Linked DNA regions of Homo sapiens: region 2 is linked to region 1. Evidence: promoter capture Hi-C in human tissues and cell types (Jung and others, 2019). All regions are on one chromosome and are shown on one strand. The core of a region is centred on a gene start or on the middle of the fragment in contact, and the rest is flanking DNA. Distances in the headings are between cores, read along the strand shown.

Region 1 (7,904 bases), core at 3,505-6,004:
AGCACAAACAATTACATACACTACATAATATTTGATAATGATAATAAATGACAATGTTATTGGTTTATGTATTTACTGTAGTATACTTTTAATTATTATTTTAGAGTGTACTCCTTCTACTTCTATAAAAACAGTTACCTGAAAAACAACCTTGGGCAGGTCCCTCAGGAGGAATTCCAGAAGAAGGCACTGTTACCATAGGAGAGGACAGCTGCACGTGTGTTATTGCCTGAACCTTCCAGTGGGACAAGATGTGGAGGGGATGACAGTGAGATTGATCTTGCTGACACTGCGTAGGCTTAGGCTAATGTATGTTTTCGTGTCTTCGTTTTTAAAAAAAGTTTAAAAAGAAAAAAATTAAAATGAAATATAGAAAAAAGCTCATAAAAAGAATATAGTTGTTAAGACTGTGCAATTTGTGTTTTTAAATAAAGTGTATTTAAAAAGAGGCAGAAGATTTTTAAAATATGAAAAATTTAGAAACCAACAAAGGTGCAGTAAAGTTAATTTATTATTAGCTCAAGAAAAAAAGTGCTGCATAAATATAGTGTACCCTAGTGTACAGTGTATAAATCCTACAGTAGTGTGCTGTAATATCCTAGGCCTTGACTTTCACTTGCTACTTACTCACTGACTCACCCAGGGAAAATTCCATTTCTGCAGTCTTCATTCGTAGTAAGTGCCCTATAAAAGGATGCCATTTTAACCTTTTTTTAAACCATATTTTACTGTTTTTTTGGTTTATATATAATTAGATAAACAAAAATTACCATTCTGGTCACTGCTTGCATTATTCACAACAGTAACATATTGTACAGGTTTGTATCCTTGGAGCAATAGCCTATCCCATATAACACAGGAGTGTAGTAGCTGTACCATCTAGGTTTGTGTAAATAAACTCTTTGATGTTGACACAGGGATGAAATTGCCTAAAGACATATTCCTCAGAGGTATCCCTGTCATTATGCAAACAATAATGGTATAACACTAATGGAAAACACCAAGTGGATGTTTGTAGCAATAGTAGACATCAGCACTTCAGACTTAAATAGAAAACATCAGTGAATGATACATTATGTGGCATCTTTAGTGAATGATTTTATTGTTTTAGTTCCATAACGTGACTAATAGAAAAAGTAACCTAGTTTATGAAAATGTAATAAAATGTAAATATAAATATACTTGTAATAGAAAAAGATACAATATGAACACAAGCATATATGCATATGACATTATTAATTAATTTTGTGAAAATATATTACAATATATTTTACAGAAAAACATATATACCTAGCCACCATTAGCCATTCTGATGGAAGGGCAAATAATAATTCTCATTGCAAAGAAATAAATATGGGTTTAAATTCCAACTTTTTAGATTTTAGAGAATAGCCGGGCACAGTGGCTCACGCCTGTAATCCCAGCACATTGGAAGGCCGAGGCAGACGGATAACGAGGTCAGGAGATCAAGACCATCCTGGCTAACACGGTGAAACCTCGTCTCTACTAAAAATACAAAAAAAATTAGCTGGGCCTGGTGGCACACGCCTGTAATCCCAGCTACTCAGGAGGCTGAGGCAGGAGAATCGCTTGAGCCCAGGAGGCAGAGGTTGCAGTGAGCCGAGATGGCACCACTGCACTCCAGCCTGGGCAATAGAATTATGCATAAACATTCCCCCTTTTCTTGATAGAAAATAAATGATGAAAAGATTTTTATTTAATACAACTAGATAATTTATAGTTTTTTCCCTGATGTTCGTATACCATTTATTTTTTAAAAGTTTTTGTTTATTTGTTTTTGAGACAAGGTCTGGCTCTGTTGCCCAGGCTACAGTGCAGTGACACTAACAGTTCACTGCAGCCTTGACCCCCAGGGCTCAAGCGATCCTCTCACCTCAGCCTCCAGAGCAGATGGGACTACAAGCAAACACCAGCATCCTCGGCTAATTCATATATATATATATATATATATATATTTTTTTTTTTTTTTTTTTTTTTTTTAAGAGATGGGGTTTCATCCTGTGTATCATGCTAACCTCAAACTCCTGAGCTCAAGTGATCCTGGAGTGCTGGGATTACTGACATGAGCTACCATGCCCGGACATTCATGTATCATTTTACTTGTGTTTTAAAAAATCTCCATTTTCTGGCCTCCCCATTTTTAAGTAGGTGATGTTTTAAAAATTGCTTTAACCTCCCTTCATAGTTTAACTTAGGCTTTAGTCATTTACAACAAATATTTCTATTAAAATGCAGACAGTAAGTCATGATTAGAGAAGGAACCGGTGAACAATATAGTAGGTAGTTTTTTTATTATTTCAGTCTCTGGCATAGAGATATAGCTCAGTATTGTTTAATATTTTATTCTTTCAAGAGACATTTATTTTAATCAGGAATCTGGTTAACTTATATAAAGAAGAAAAATTGAATGAGGGAATTTTAAGAACTAAGGCAAAGAAAGCAAGAAGATAAGTTTGAGAATGCATGTCAGTTACAATTAAGTTGAAAATGCAGCATTTTCTCAAAATAGTGACAAGTACATTAAATTCCTATTGATAAAATCATTATTTAAATTTTGTTATTATGATAGCAGTGATATTATAGGGGTATATGATAAAAAAGTATATAATGTCAAGTTTCAGCCACCTTGTCTAAATGTAGAAAGCAACCACCTAAGATCCTTTTGAAAAGTTACAAAACTTTGGTGTTTGTGACTGAGATGGAAACAATCACCAGCATGGATCAAATCTCTGCTCTCCCCTCATCTTGTTGACCATAAAAATAATTTCTAAGAGGCACTTTAAAATGGACAAACTAAATGACACACTAGCCACCCAAAGTCTCCTATATTCTAAAGTGTGTGATGAGACAAACTGATTCAAAATAGCCCTAGGGTGAGAATTTCCTGTTCAAATCTGCAGTGACACATTGGTGAGGAATCTACTTTTTCCACTCTTGCCTCACTCTGACCCTTCAAAGGGCAGTCTGTGAAGATCACAGATAACGTTTGTGTCTTTCAGAGGTAACCTGACCTCTCCACTGAAGGGCGTGTGGCTTTCTGATGACAGTAGGTAAGTGTTGCTCCTCTCCCTGTTTCTCTACTAGCTCATCTCATTTAGTAGAAGATTGTAAGTACTGGCTGTGATGCACCTGAGGTAAAGTTGATATAGACGAAAATCAAGGTAGAACTTTATTCACGTGAATAATTCAAGGTGAAAAACGAGCCAAAATATAAACTATGTTTAAGGATTTCTTAGAGTATTCACATCATTGCCGCTGGAGAATCACTCAAGTAGATGCATACATAATAATAGGTTTGCCAATCCATGTAATTTAGAGTGAAACCCATAACCATCATGACAATGAACAATTAATTTTGGATTTTGTAATCATTACTGGTTTAATTGTATATTATATTTAGACCAAACTTTAAAAATAAATTTTTAATATGGATACATCAAATTGTGAATGTCAAACATTAATTCTCAATCACACACCTAGATTTCATGAAAGCAGTTTTAATTTTTAATAAAAGTAAGGATGAAATCATTTCCATAAAATGCAAATCTGACCTTAATTATAAACAATTGGAAGACTTAAAACAATTGAACCAAACATTGCAAAAAAGATGTACCACACTGACATGAGACGCCTAATTAATGAGTTATTTTAACACACTCTAATGCAAATCAGAAATAATAAAATGGCAATTGTGTTAAAAATAGTTGAAATATCTATTATGTATTCAGTGCTAATATGTGCCAGGTTGTGTGTTTAGTTTTCTACATACATTATACTTTATAAATTATTTTTCCCAATGTAGATTAGTAAACTAGGTTAGTAGACACTAAGTAATTTAGTACAGGTCACATATTACAACTTGCAAAGCTAGAATTAATTGTAGTCTCACTGACTACAGAGCTCATTGACTAGATTATTAAATTACATTATCTGAACTATTACAATTACTTATACAACCAAAGCGACCCTCACTGACTTATACAATCATAGGAGCTTTCTGAAAGTTTGATTGGACACTATTCTTCCATAGACGGCCCACACGTTTATTTATCATTTTAAGTTTTCCTATTTTAGTCATTAAATCAATTACCAATTTCTTGTGTAAAAGCAGCAATTTAAAAATATATTATGTTTTCAATAGTATTTATGCATACAGTAATGTAATGTTTTACAAGATATATTTTTAAAATTTTAATGATTTTTCTGATTTCCTAATTTAGAAAAATAATCAGTTGACAATACCTCAGGTCCTTTTAATAAATGAATGTAACTCACTAACAATGTATGTTAGTATAAGAAGTTACTCTGTATGCTGACAGAACTATTTTATCTTATGGCACACAATCATTAACCATCAATGACTCTTAAAACTATGGTAAAATTAGTGTATTTCTAAATACAGTATTTTAATTGTTAAAGTATGCAGTCTATTGGTGTTAAACATTTTTGAAGAATCTAACCTTAATTTAATACCAATTTTTTTCATGAACTTCCTAGTTCTCACAAGTTTAATGTTTTTATTGTTCCCACTAGTAATATTATGTCAAATACAGAATACATCTAAAAAATGGCCAATTATATCGTGTGATTTTTGTTTAAAGCTTTAGGAAATTAGTAGCAGAATTTTACCTAGGTTAACAGCAAAGTAAACATTATTACTCAGCCCCAACACATGCACATTGCCTATACCAGGGATCCTGTCAAAATATACACCATTTATAGCTTCTTAAGTGCAGTTATCATAGAGCACAGTCCCTCACATCACACAGCTGCAGAGATGAGTAAACAAAGAGGAACCTTCTCAGAAGTGAGTCTGGCCCAGGACCCAAAGTGGCAGCAAAGGAAACCTAAAGGCAATAAAAGCTCCATTTCAGGAACCGAACAGGAAATATTCCAAGTAGAATTAAACCTTCAAAATGCTTCTCTGAATCATCAAGGGATTGATAAAATATATGACTGCCAAGGTAAAACATTAAATATATCTTCAATGTTATTGTTCTGGGATGTGCAGTTGAATGCAGAAGGGTGAGGAAAGATTAGGGAATATTTTACACTTGTGAGAATCAGAGTTCATAAATGGGATCTAATATTCTAATATGAAATCAGAAGACTAATTTTATTCAGGCATTGTTCAACTGTAATCAACTGTAATCTGCAATCCACTCATGGAACATTACATTTACTGAAAATGAAATGGTATATTCTGAGAGAAAGATTACTAGAGTAGATGTAGATTTAGCGGCCAGAGTTTATCATTATGTTTCCCTGTGCATGTGGGTTCTCTAGTATGTAATTCTCTAGTATGTAATCCTAATCAACTCTCTATCTCCCCTCTCTCAGTGCCTCTATTTCTCTCCCTGCAGGTTTACTGCCACCTCCAGAAAAGCTCACTGCCGAGGTCCTAGGAATCATTTGCATTGTCCTGATGGCCACTGTGTTAAAAACAATAGTTCTTATTCCTTGTAAGCATATTCTTGAAAGATTAGAAGGGAACGTTTTACTTTAATGCTTGGAAGTGCCTCAAAATATTTCATACTGTTGAAGAATAGAACTCTTATTTTACTGTTTCTTTCAAAGATCTATTACTTCATTTATTTTTATAGAAAAAGTTAATTTTATTAAAGATTGTCCCCATTTTAAATAACACACAAAGTTTCAAAGTAAGAAACTAAACTCATTATGGTTTATCTAAATATTACTTTTTATAAAAATCATTTTAATTTTTCTATTACAGTCCTGGAGCAGAACAATTCTTCCCCAAATACAAGAACCCAGAAAAGTACATTTTTATTTTCAAAGTTCTGATATTAGTACAATTTGGAACCAAAATAATATGGTTATTCTGAATTTTTCACAACATAAATAACAAAATCATTGTAGAGAACATGTGTTTATTTTTTGTGTGTAATCTATATATATGTATATACATACACACACAAAGATATTTTCTGATTTCATAATTCAAAGGCATGCTATAGAAGAAAAGTATTTAGAAAAACTAATTTTTGAAAGTGGTTACATCAAATACTACAAGAGATGGTGAAGTTTTGTGCTAAAGTCTTTAAAAATGTTTATTTCAAAGGTCTATTACTTTATATATTTTTATAGAAAAAGTTAATTTTATTAAAGATTCTCCCCATTTTAAATAACACACAAAGTTTCAAAGTAAGAAACTAAACTCATTATGGTTTATCTAGATATCAGTTTTTATAAAAATCATTTTAATTTTTCTATTACAGTCCTGGAGCAGAACAATTCTTCCCCGAATGCAAGAACCCAGAAAGGTACATTTTTATTTTCAATGCTCTGATATTAGTACAATTTATATTTTGTGTCTGTTTTAAGGCATGTAAAAGAATAGTGGCATTTTTGCAGAAAATAAGCCATAAATTCAGCCATAAATATTTATAAAGAAAGATTATGAGGCAGCATTTCCTTTTCTCCAGTAAGTAGAAATACTCACTTAAAATCATTCTACCCTCTTTCTCCCAATTAACAGAAGTCTCCTACTGCTGTGAGATGATACCAAATAAATAATTTTACTATTCTAAAAAAGCAGTTGTGTATCAGTGAGGTTCAAGACATGTGTGGAGTGTATTTTTGTTTGTTGGTTTGCTTTATATGGGAACACAATTAGGGGAGAGAGGCTAACCCTTTTCTGTGTATGTGTGTATGACTGACTCAGTTATTAAAAAATATATACTTATAAGCCTGTAAGGATGCATAAATATGTTAAGCACATATATGTTTATACTGTTGCAAATATGTGAACTAATTTTCATTTTTAAAAATTCATATTGGTCTAGATAGTAATTCATATCTTTATTAGCACGTCATTGTGGCCATTGTCCTGAGGAGTGGATTACATATTCCAACAGTTGTTATTACATTGGTAAGGAAAGAAGAACTTGGGAAGAGAGTTTGCAGGCCTGTGCTTCAAAGAACTCTTCTAGTCTGCTTTGTATAGATAATGAAGAAGAAATGGTAAGATGTAAATGTTTCAAACATTTTATGAAAAGCTTCTTTCAGTGAATAATACATTTGTAGAAAACATCCATATGTGTGTACATATATTTAGCTTATATATTTTCAAGTGTATGCATTATTCAGTTGATTGACTTAATAATGTTTTTAAAGTTATATACCGCTAATGTACTTTTATTTTCAGTTTTTGCTTTTTATGGAAAACCATGCTTCTATTAATGCTTTGAATCCACAATAAATTTTACTATTTAATTTTATTGAGCATGATATGATCTAGTCATGCAGATTGATCACAAAGTGAATGATCTCATGTGATACAAGTGAGATCATGAAATAAGTTTCCAGCTCTAGCAGTTCCACCCCTGTGTATGCCCTCATCACTTATCCTGACTCCTCTCCAAAACACTGTCTTGACTTTTGAAGTTATAAATAAGGTTTGCCTGTTCTTGAATTTATAAAAAACGGAATTATACAGTGTGAATTTCATGTCTGTCTTTTTCACTCCTATCTGATATTTGTGGAATTCCTCCATATTATTGCGGTTATCTGTAGTTTGTTACTGTTCACTGCTGTACTATGTACAAAGAACACTAAGAATTCATTCTGTCTTATGTCTCTAGATGGGGAAGTGAGTCTCATGCCCTCAGGGGCAAAGAGGACCCTGGATGGTGCATTGGTAGTCGTGGGTCCCTTTCCTGATCCTCCTCACCCACAACCACCCTGGTGTCTCCTGGTATGAGAAGGAAGCACTTTCTCTAGCTCCGTATTGGTGGCAGGTCTCCTGGTAGATCATCCTTGCCAGTGGCACCAGCCTTGCCTGGTATTGTGGAGGGGACTCTCCTTCGATACCCTCCTCCTATTGCCAGGTTGGGTGTAGGGAAACAGCAGGCCTAGGTCAC
Region 2 (7,904 bases), core at 5,142-7,641, 54 kb after region 1:
CATCTCAATAAAAGCCAGGAACAGAGAAGAGATTACACCAGCGGTAACACTGCCAACTGAGACTAAAGGAAACAAACAAAAACAGGACAAAATGACCAAAGACTGTCAGATTTCTTAGACTCCACAGGACCAAACCATAGAACAATTTCACTGCAAACATGCATGATTCTCCAAGACAAAAGAAGAGAGATCCTAAAGGCAATTCAGATATCCCCAAGGCTGCCTCTCCCACCACAAGCCCAGAGTGGATGGGCTGGGGGAGGGGTGCTGTTTTAATTTCTAAAGGTAGGACCAACACCCAGGGGATCAGTGAAGGAAGAGAAGGCCAGCAGATCACTGAGAGTGCAACCCCACCCTCCACAGGAAATTGCCTCATGGGCAGGGCCACAGCAGAGAGACACAGCATGGGCAGTGCCTTCCCTGCCTGTGGGGGTCATGCTGCCACTTTTAATGGGTCCTCCACCCAACGGGGTCAGGGAGGTGGTGCTGCCCCAGTGGGCCATGATTATCTTAAAGGCATTATTCTCCAGCCTTAAGTAAGATCTTAGGACGTTTCCTTTGCTATGATTTGTACTTGCTTGAGTCCCATGACTGTTTCTCTTCCTCTCTTTCTTCCTTTTGGAATAGTAATATCCATCCTATGTTTGTCCCACTATTGTATTTTGGAAGCACATAACTTGTTTGGTTTCACAGGTTCACAGTTAAGAAGGAATTTTGCCTCTGAATAAATAGAATCTTGAGTCTCATGCATATCTTGTTTGATGATATTTAGATAAGATTTTGGACTTTAGACTTTACAATTGATTCCGTAAAAAGCTAAGACTTGGGGTTATTAGAATGGAATTGTTTGAAATGCTTGTTCCCCGGTGTCATAAAGAAATAGGACTTGAACATAAATTTAATTTATTTAGTAAGGCCATTTTTTACTTCCTGCAGAAAGGGTACACTCACTAGCAGTTCTGCCATGAGAGTACACCGAACAAAGGAGACAGGGTCATTTATAACCTGACATGTCCACACTACTGCTGTGTCCGGTTTCCACTGGCTGGAACGGGACCTCACATTCTGTATTTGTCCCGATTGGCTAGCAACTTAGAACTTTTTAAAAGAGGCAAAGGTAGAGGAGAACAAAGGAAGGAGGAAGTAACTTGTGGAATGCTGAGAAAGATAAAAACACTTTTAAATAAGGAAGAGGAACAGGCTATGACCTAACGCTTGCTTGGACCAGTATAAGCATGCCAGGGCAAATATTTAGGAGCACAGGTCTTTGAATAAATTTTGCTTCTAAGAGAAGTTACTGTTTATTTCTAATTAGATGGGGAGGAAAGTCTTTGAAGAGGAACCTCTACTTTACTTTTTACAATATTCCCCCTTTTTTTATTTCATAATTCCTCCTCAGTCTTGTTTAATATGTTTTGACTTAATTCTTTGTCCTTCTAAGAGAGGTAATTTTTTTTCAATAGGGTGGAGGATAGTTAGGAGTTAACTCTGTAAGAGCAGCAGAGACAAGTTTTTGCATAAAACCTTGAAGGCAGGGCATAATATAACAGTCTACAAGAATAAGTACACCAATAGTAAGGGCAAACGAGGTGAGAATTGAATTGAAGTTAAATTTTTTTTTAATTTATGGTTACCTACCAGACCAACATGGATTTAAATTTTGCAGCTATTTGATTTTTGTGCTTTAAACTTATTTGGCACTTCTCACGGACCTTAATAACATTTACGTAAACCTGAGGATTAAAGGACTCAAGGAGTTTCCTTTGGCCTGCGGTGTTTTGTTTTTACCTTTTTAGATTGACGAAATGCCAGCGTGAAGCGGATAGCCAATTGGATTAGAGCACAAGTACTGCTCCAGTTATTTGGCCGAGTGTCCAGTAAAGGTCTTCCACAGTACCACTATACATTTGCTTGGGGATGGCTAAGCATGGACTGATGGGCAAGTTCTTGGAAAGGCTTGGGCTTCTTGTATCCTTTTATGCTTTCAAGGAACGCCAAATTTTCCTCCTGCCATGAGAGGCACAAAGTAAACTTGGCATTTAGAGGTGGAAGCTGGATTGCCCTCGGAGGCTGACCCGCAGGGTGTTGAATTTCAGGAAATAGCAGAGAGCGCTCAGTATGATGGATTATCCCAAGCAGTGGGATTTTGAAAAAGAACCACCATACACTCCATATCTGGATGACAAGGAGACCATCCAAGTGGAAAGGAGATAATCTGGGCCTCTGGCCTACCGTGTGTACAAGCGTAATAATCGCTTTTATTTAAAGTGTGAATGGATTATTTAATCCATTTCAGCCAGGAATTTGCATCTTGATATTTTGTCTTGATGGCTAAGGTCTGTCTTAGATATCTTATTTTTACAATAGACACCCTAGTTTTATTAGATGTAGGAGCAACTGGTGTGGGATCTAGAACTGAGGCTACTGAAGAAGGGGGAGATGGGGGAAAAATCCATATTTTAAAAATACCTAGGGGGTCTTTTCCATTTATGTCAATCCCCATACCACAGAAGCGACTAAGGGCAGGTCTAGAGTTAGTTAAGGTGGAGGTGGTGATAAAGAGAAGGACAGGGTTACACTGATAAGGCTGACAGTGAGAAGGGGTAGTCCTTTTAGTGAAATAGATGAGGGGTTTTAGATTTGCACAAACCTTTTTCGTGGAAGTCCAGCTTTGCTCCTGGGTAGTTTAAGGGATGTGGTCCCATTTACTACAAGGTTGCCAGCCTGTAGGAGCAGAAAATCAGCATCTTGGCTGCAGGTCATTACAACAATGACTGCTAGGGGTACCTGTGTCAGTTAGAGGGCTGGGACATAAATATTTGTGTGAAAAGGCTAGCTGTTGTTGATATTTTACATTTCCACAAGGTATGACAGAGCAAGAGTTAAAGGCAATGGTCTGAGGTGAGTCAGACTTAGTTACATTAATAACAACGGAGCTAGTAACAAAATACGGAAAGGAAAGGAAGCGATATAGAAGGTATATGAAAATTAAGCTTTCTTTAACTTTAACTTAGTAGGGCTTAATCCTAGTACAGTAACCCATGATTCTGAGAGGAAGATGTTTTCTTGACTCGAGTATGGTGGGACCATTTTTTTCTTGGCTGTGCGGACGGCAGTCTCAGTGGTTAATAGCATAAAATAGGGTTCTTCCCAGGCTGGCTTGAGTTTTTTTTTCTTTCTATCTTTTGATAAGGATGTGGTTTTCAGGCTGGTGCTGGTGTACTGGAAATTCTAGGGGTGCTACCTGTGCTAAAAGACTTTTAGCTCCAAGGGAAGGGAAAGTGGAAGATAGATTAAGTATATAATTTCTGCTGCATATCCTGGGGCTTGAGGCCTCATGGTTATGCCCCTTGCTCTATTCCTGCTCAGCGCTGCCCAGGAGACACTGTGGCCCTGCCCCCTCTTAATGTTTGGCCTTCTTATGGCCTTCACCACCCTGCACTCTGTGGCCTTGGGGATGAGGGTCCTTGTGACTTACCGGGTTGCCTTTAGGCCTTAAGAAAGCCAAACACCATTTTATATTTGACAATGTTTTTGTATGATTTTATACCAGATAAGTTAAATTTTACCATTATATTAATGTGCTATTGATGTTCAACTTAATTTTAATAAAATCTTGTAGACATTATTTATCCAATTTTAATGTCTAACTATAAGGTAAGACTTTTATAGATTCTTTAACTTTTTATAATTTTTGTTAAAGAGCAGGTTAGTGCTTTAAGAAAAATCTATAGTGATTTTATTGTAATATCCAGTTCACAGAAAAACTGGATGATACCCCTTTAACTTTAGCCAATATGTTAACACACAGAATTTCCTTTACAATTAACATTTTAAAACTTGCTTAAATCTTTAAAACAGAAAAAAAGTTTAGCCTTTAATGTAGGTAAAAATCTGTATTCTTATGCCTCTTTATAATCCTGTTATTAAAAGTATTTTTTTACATACCTTGTACATAAACTTTTTTTAATAATTTTACATTCAGGAGGCCTGTTTTTCAGTTATACAATATTTTTTGCATAAATTCCCTTTTATAGCTTTTCTTATGACTTTCACAGACAATCTTCAGCATGTCTTAACTTTCTGCCTTCCTTTTTCACTATTTTTCTAGTTTCACTCTCTGTATCTTCCTTTGATTTCTGTCTCTTCCAGTTTCTCTCTTACTTACTCTTTCCCTCTATTTCTCTCTCTCTCTCATTTGCGCTCTATTTTCCTCTCTCTCTCTCTCTCTCTCTCTCATCCTGTTTCCCTTTCTTTTCCCAAGTTCTCCTGCTCCTGCTGCGAGCCCTGCTGGGCCATGGCACGGGCCCCACCCCCACGCACACGCAGCTGTCTGTTTCTCCTGTGTTTTTTATTTTTCCTGATTTCCCTTTTTATATTTTTTCCTTTCTTTTTACACTTAGTTTCTCTGGCTGGGTGGGTGGGATTTGCCCGGCTGTAGTCTGGGCCCCAGGCAGTCACCGGCCCAGAGGATTGGCAGATGCCTGCCGCAAATTGCAAGAATTATGCCCTTTCACCTCCTCTGCTCTCCTCCCGGCACCAGTCCCCAAGCTCTTTGGGGAGAGGGACTTACCCCTTGGCGTGCCTGCCTGGCTGTTTGGCTCTATGCTTGCTGTTTTTGCTTTCTTTCCCTCTGACTTCCTCTCCTAGTTTTTTTCTTTTCTGCTGGTCTTTCTTTTTTCTCCACCTGTAGCAGGATTGATAAGGAATCAGGAACACCAAGGGGTTGAGGAGGATTTTTATTATTTAGGTGCACTGGCCCAGTTGGATTAACATCCAAATGACTGAGCCCTGAACAAAGAGTCAAGTTATCTTTTAAGTATTTTGTCTGTGGGGGAAGATTTGTGCAGGGGGAAGCATATTACAGAAGCAAGAAACAAAGACAGTTATTCAATTGAGACATACATTACATTGTTTCTTACTTTTCAAGGAAAAGCATGTTTTATGACTTGAGTTTGTCTGTCTAGTGACCTTGCAGCTGCACAGCTAGAGAAACAGGGTCTTCACAATGCCTGGGAAAGGGAGAGATAAGGCTCACTAGCCACGGAAAAACAGGCAGTTAATTTTTAAAGGACTCCAGTTCTTTCTCTTCCTCAGGGGGAATTGGGTTTTCTTACATACAACTGAGTTTTTGCTTACACATTCTTTAATTTCTTTTAATTCCTGTTCCATTCCCCCCTTTGGTGCTTTTTATAACAAATGTGTTAACAGAAAGCACCACTATTTGCCACGTCTTCGTGGAGCTGAGCTGCTGCTTCTACCAGCAGCGACTGATATCTGGTTAATGCCATCATCTGCATGGTAGTGTATCAGGCCACTATTGCCTCCATAGTTGACTGAATACTTCTAATAAACAGGGGTAAAAGGCAAGGGAGGATGAGGCAGATGCCAAGAATAACCAAGAACCCACCAATGAGGCTTTTGAATCCTCTAAAGGCTGAGAACCATCCTCCAAACAAGGAATCCGGGGACCACCCAGACCAAGTCTGAACTGGAATATGGGCCAATGTGTGCATTCTAGCGGTGATTTCCATGACAGCTCAACCATTATCATCGATTTCTAGGCAACAGTTGGTTAAATTAAATTTTCCACATACTCCTCCTCCTGAGGCTAAGAGGTAATCTAAAGCCAATCTATTTTGATATATAGCATTCCTCATTTCTGTTGTTGTATTTTTTTCCATGTGAGTTCCTTGGTGGAACTCTTTTAAAAATCTGGGGGCCACCATTTCAGGTATGGCTAGCCTCCCATTGGATAATATTTACCATCTCCTTTTAATGTAGTTTTTATTTTTCTGGGCAAAATAAGCCCTTTCATTTGGAGTGTAGCTTGGGATATCCAGGAGAGGAATCTCTGGGAGGAGAGGCATAGCTAAGGCTTCCTCTTTAAAAGGTGGAGTTGTCATTGCAGCCTGCTTTGCCTCTTTGTCTGTTTTCTTATTTTATTTTATTTTTTTAGCCTTTAGTATTCTTCCTTTTTGGTGCCCCTTGCAGTACATCACTGCCACCTTTTGGGGCCTATACAGCATTTAAGAGCTCTAGAATTTCTTCCTTATACTTTATTTCTTTACTTTCAGCAGTTAAAATTATTTTTTCTTTGTAAATAGTCTCATGAACATGCAAAGTGGCAGAAACATATCTGGAATATGTGTAAATATTTGTCTTTTGGTCTTTGGCTAGCCAGAGAGCTCTTGTCAGAGCTATTAGTTCTGCTTTCTAAGCAGAAGTTTTTGTAGGCAAAGACTGCACCTCTACTACTGAATCCAAAGTCACCACTGCATACCCAGCTTGGCGGACTCCGTTTAGTATGAAACTGCTTCCATTAGTAAAATATTCAATGTCCAGGTCCCTGAGGGATGTATCTGTCAAATCTCTCTGGCTTAAGAACACTTCATCTATCACATTTACACAGCAACGAAGGGGGTCTCCTGGCACTGACTCGATGAGGAGCAAGGTAGCCGGGTTTAGGGTATTCACCATCTCTAAAGTCAGTTTATTAGCTTCTTGTGCCAGTAGGGCAGTAGCAGCTAGTGCTTTAAAACAAGGAGGCCATCCAAGTGCCACAGAATCTAACTGCCTGGATAAGTGTGTCACTGGGCAATGCCATGACCTTATGGCTTGAGTTAGAATCTTTATGGCCTCCCTTTCACTTGTGGACATTCAAGAAGATAAGCTTAGTTAGTTAGATCTGGCAGTCCTAAAGCTGGGATCTGAGTCAAGGCTTCTTTGATTTTTTGAAAAGCCTTCTTCTGGTTGGCCTCCTAGAGGAGGAGTCCTTCTTTCCTCCTCTTTGTGGCTTTGTATAATGGCTTAGCCACAAGCAAGAAATTTGGGATCTAAATGCGGAAGAACTTTGCTGCCCTTAGGAACTCTGTTATTCGACGCCAGGTGGTTGGAGTAGGAAGTGCACAAACAGCCTGCTTTTGTTCACTACTAAGCCATCTTTCCTCTTGGCTTATGTAAAAGCTTAAGTACTGGACACTTTTCGAGCAGATCTGAGCTTTTTTCTGACCCTTTATATCCTGCCTTTCACAGCAGTCTTGGGTTTCTCCTGGGTGCAGTAGCCCTTGGCCAGTGGTTTTTTCATACCATGGCCTTGACCATTCTCCTTATTCTTTTGACATTTATCCTTCTAGTGTCCTTTTCTTTTGCACCATGTACATTAATCTCTCTCTAGCCTTGGCTGGCTTTCAAATTGCTGTCCAGACTAGCCTTTTCCACAACTGCATTCACACCCGCATCTATGCCTCCTTGCAAAGCCAGCCTCTCTTCCCATAAGGGCTGCTGCTTGTAAATAAGCCTTTATTAAGCCTCCAATCAGCTTTCTTCTTTGCCTCCTGGTCTCAGTTAATGTACACCTTGGTAGCCACTTTAATAAGCTGAGTAGCATTCACACCTACGGAGCTTCTAACTTCTGCAATTTATGCCTGATATCTCCTTGGGCCTGCCTTACAAATGCCGTATTTACTATTCACTGATTTTCAGCAGCCTCGGGGTTAAACAGAGTGTACAAGCAAAATGCCTATAAAACTGGCTGGTGCTTTTATCTGCACCATGGAGCACTTCTGAGATTTTTTTATATTGGTTGCCTTTTCCTTTTAACATCCTTTAGCCTTTGTAAAAGTGCTTCTCGGCACTTTTGTAGGTGCTGAAGCTGGACTGCATCGTCTGGGTCCTAGTGGGGGTCTGCTTGTCCTCTTAAGAGGCAGAAGCATAACTTGGGCATGACTTGACCTGAGACGGCCTGCCTACCTTTTTGAGCCTTTCGTTTTAACTTCCTGGAGCTCCGATTTCTCCTTCTCAGGTGAGAGTGGGAGCATGTATCTGTTTGAACTTACCTCCTTAGGGGCAATTAGCCTTGGTAAGGGGGGATAGATTGGAATATAGGTAGGAAGGATCTCTAT

What was found. Contacts are between HindIII fragments. The study calls those that stand out against the background at their distance.
Region 2: a contact is called between a fragment that was not itself captured here and the fragment with the promoter of KLRC3 in region 1, in 1 of the 25 tissues and cell types used here (hippocampus).

What each region holds. Positions count from the first base shown.
Region 1 is chr12:10,417,445-10,425,348 of GRCh38, reverse strand. It overlaps KLRC3 (killer cell lectin like receptor C3), which reads left to right and starts at 4,754. Exons shown (of 7, transcript NM_002261.3): 1 at 4,754-4,985; 2 at 5,385-5,483; 3 at 6,261-6,305; 4 at 6,851-7,005. The coding sequence starts at 4,799. The HindIII fragment of the contact is 7,239 bases long and covers 799-7,904 here.
Region 2 is chr12:10,365,199-10,373,102 of GRCh38, reverse strand. All of the region lies in intron 1 of KLRK1-AS1 (KLRK1 antisense RNA 1), which reads right to left. KLRC4-KLRK1 (KLRC4-KLRK1 readthrough) reads left to right here. Exons shown (of 13, transcript NM_001199805.1): 13 at 1-750. It overlaps KLRK1 (killer cell lectin like receptor K1), which reads left to right. Exons shown (of 8, transcript NM_007360.4): 8 at 1-750. Among named protein-coding and RNA genes, the nearest start is that of KLRK1-AS1, 5.4 kb to the right of the region's middle. RefSeq lists a silencer at 706-906. The HindIII fragment of the contact is 3,116 bases long and covers 4,834-7,904 here.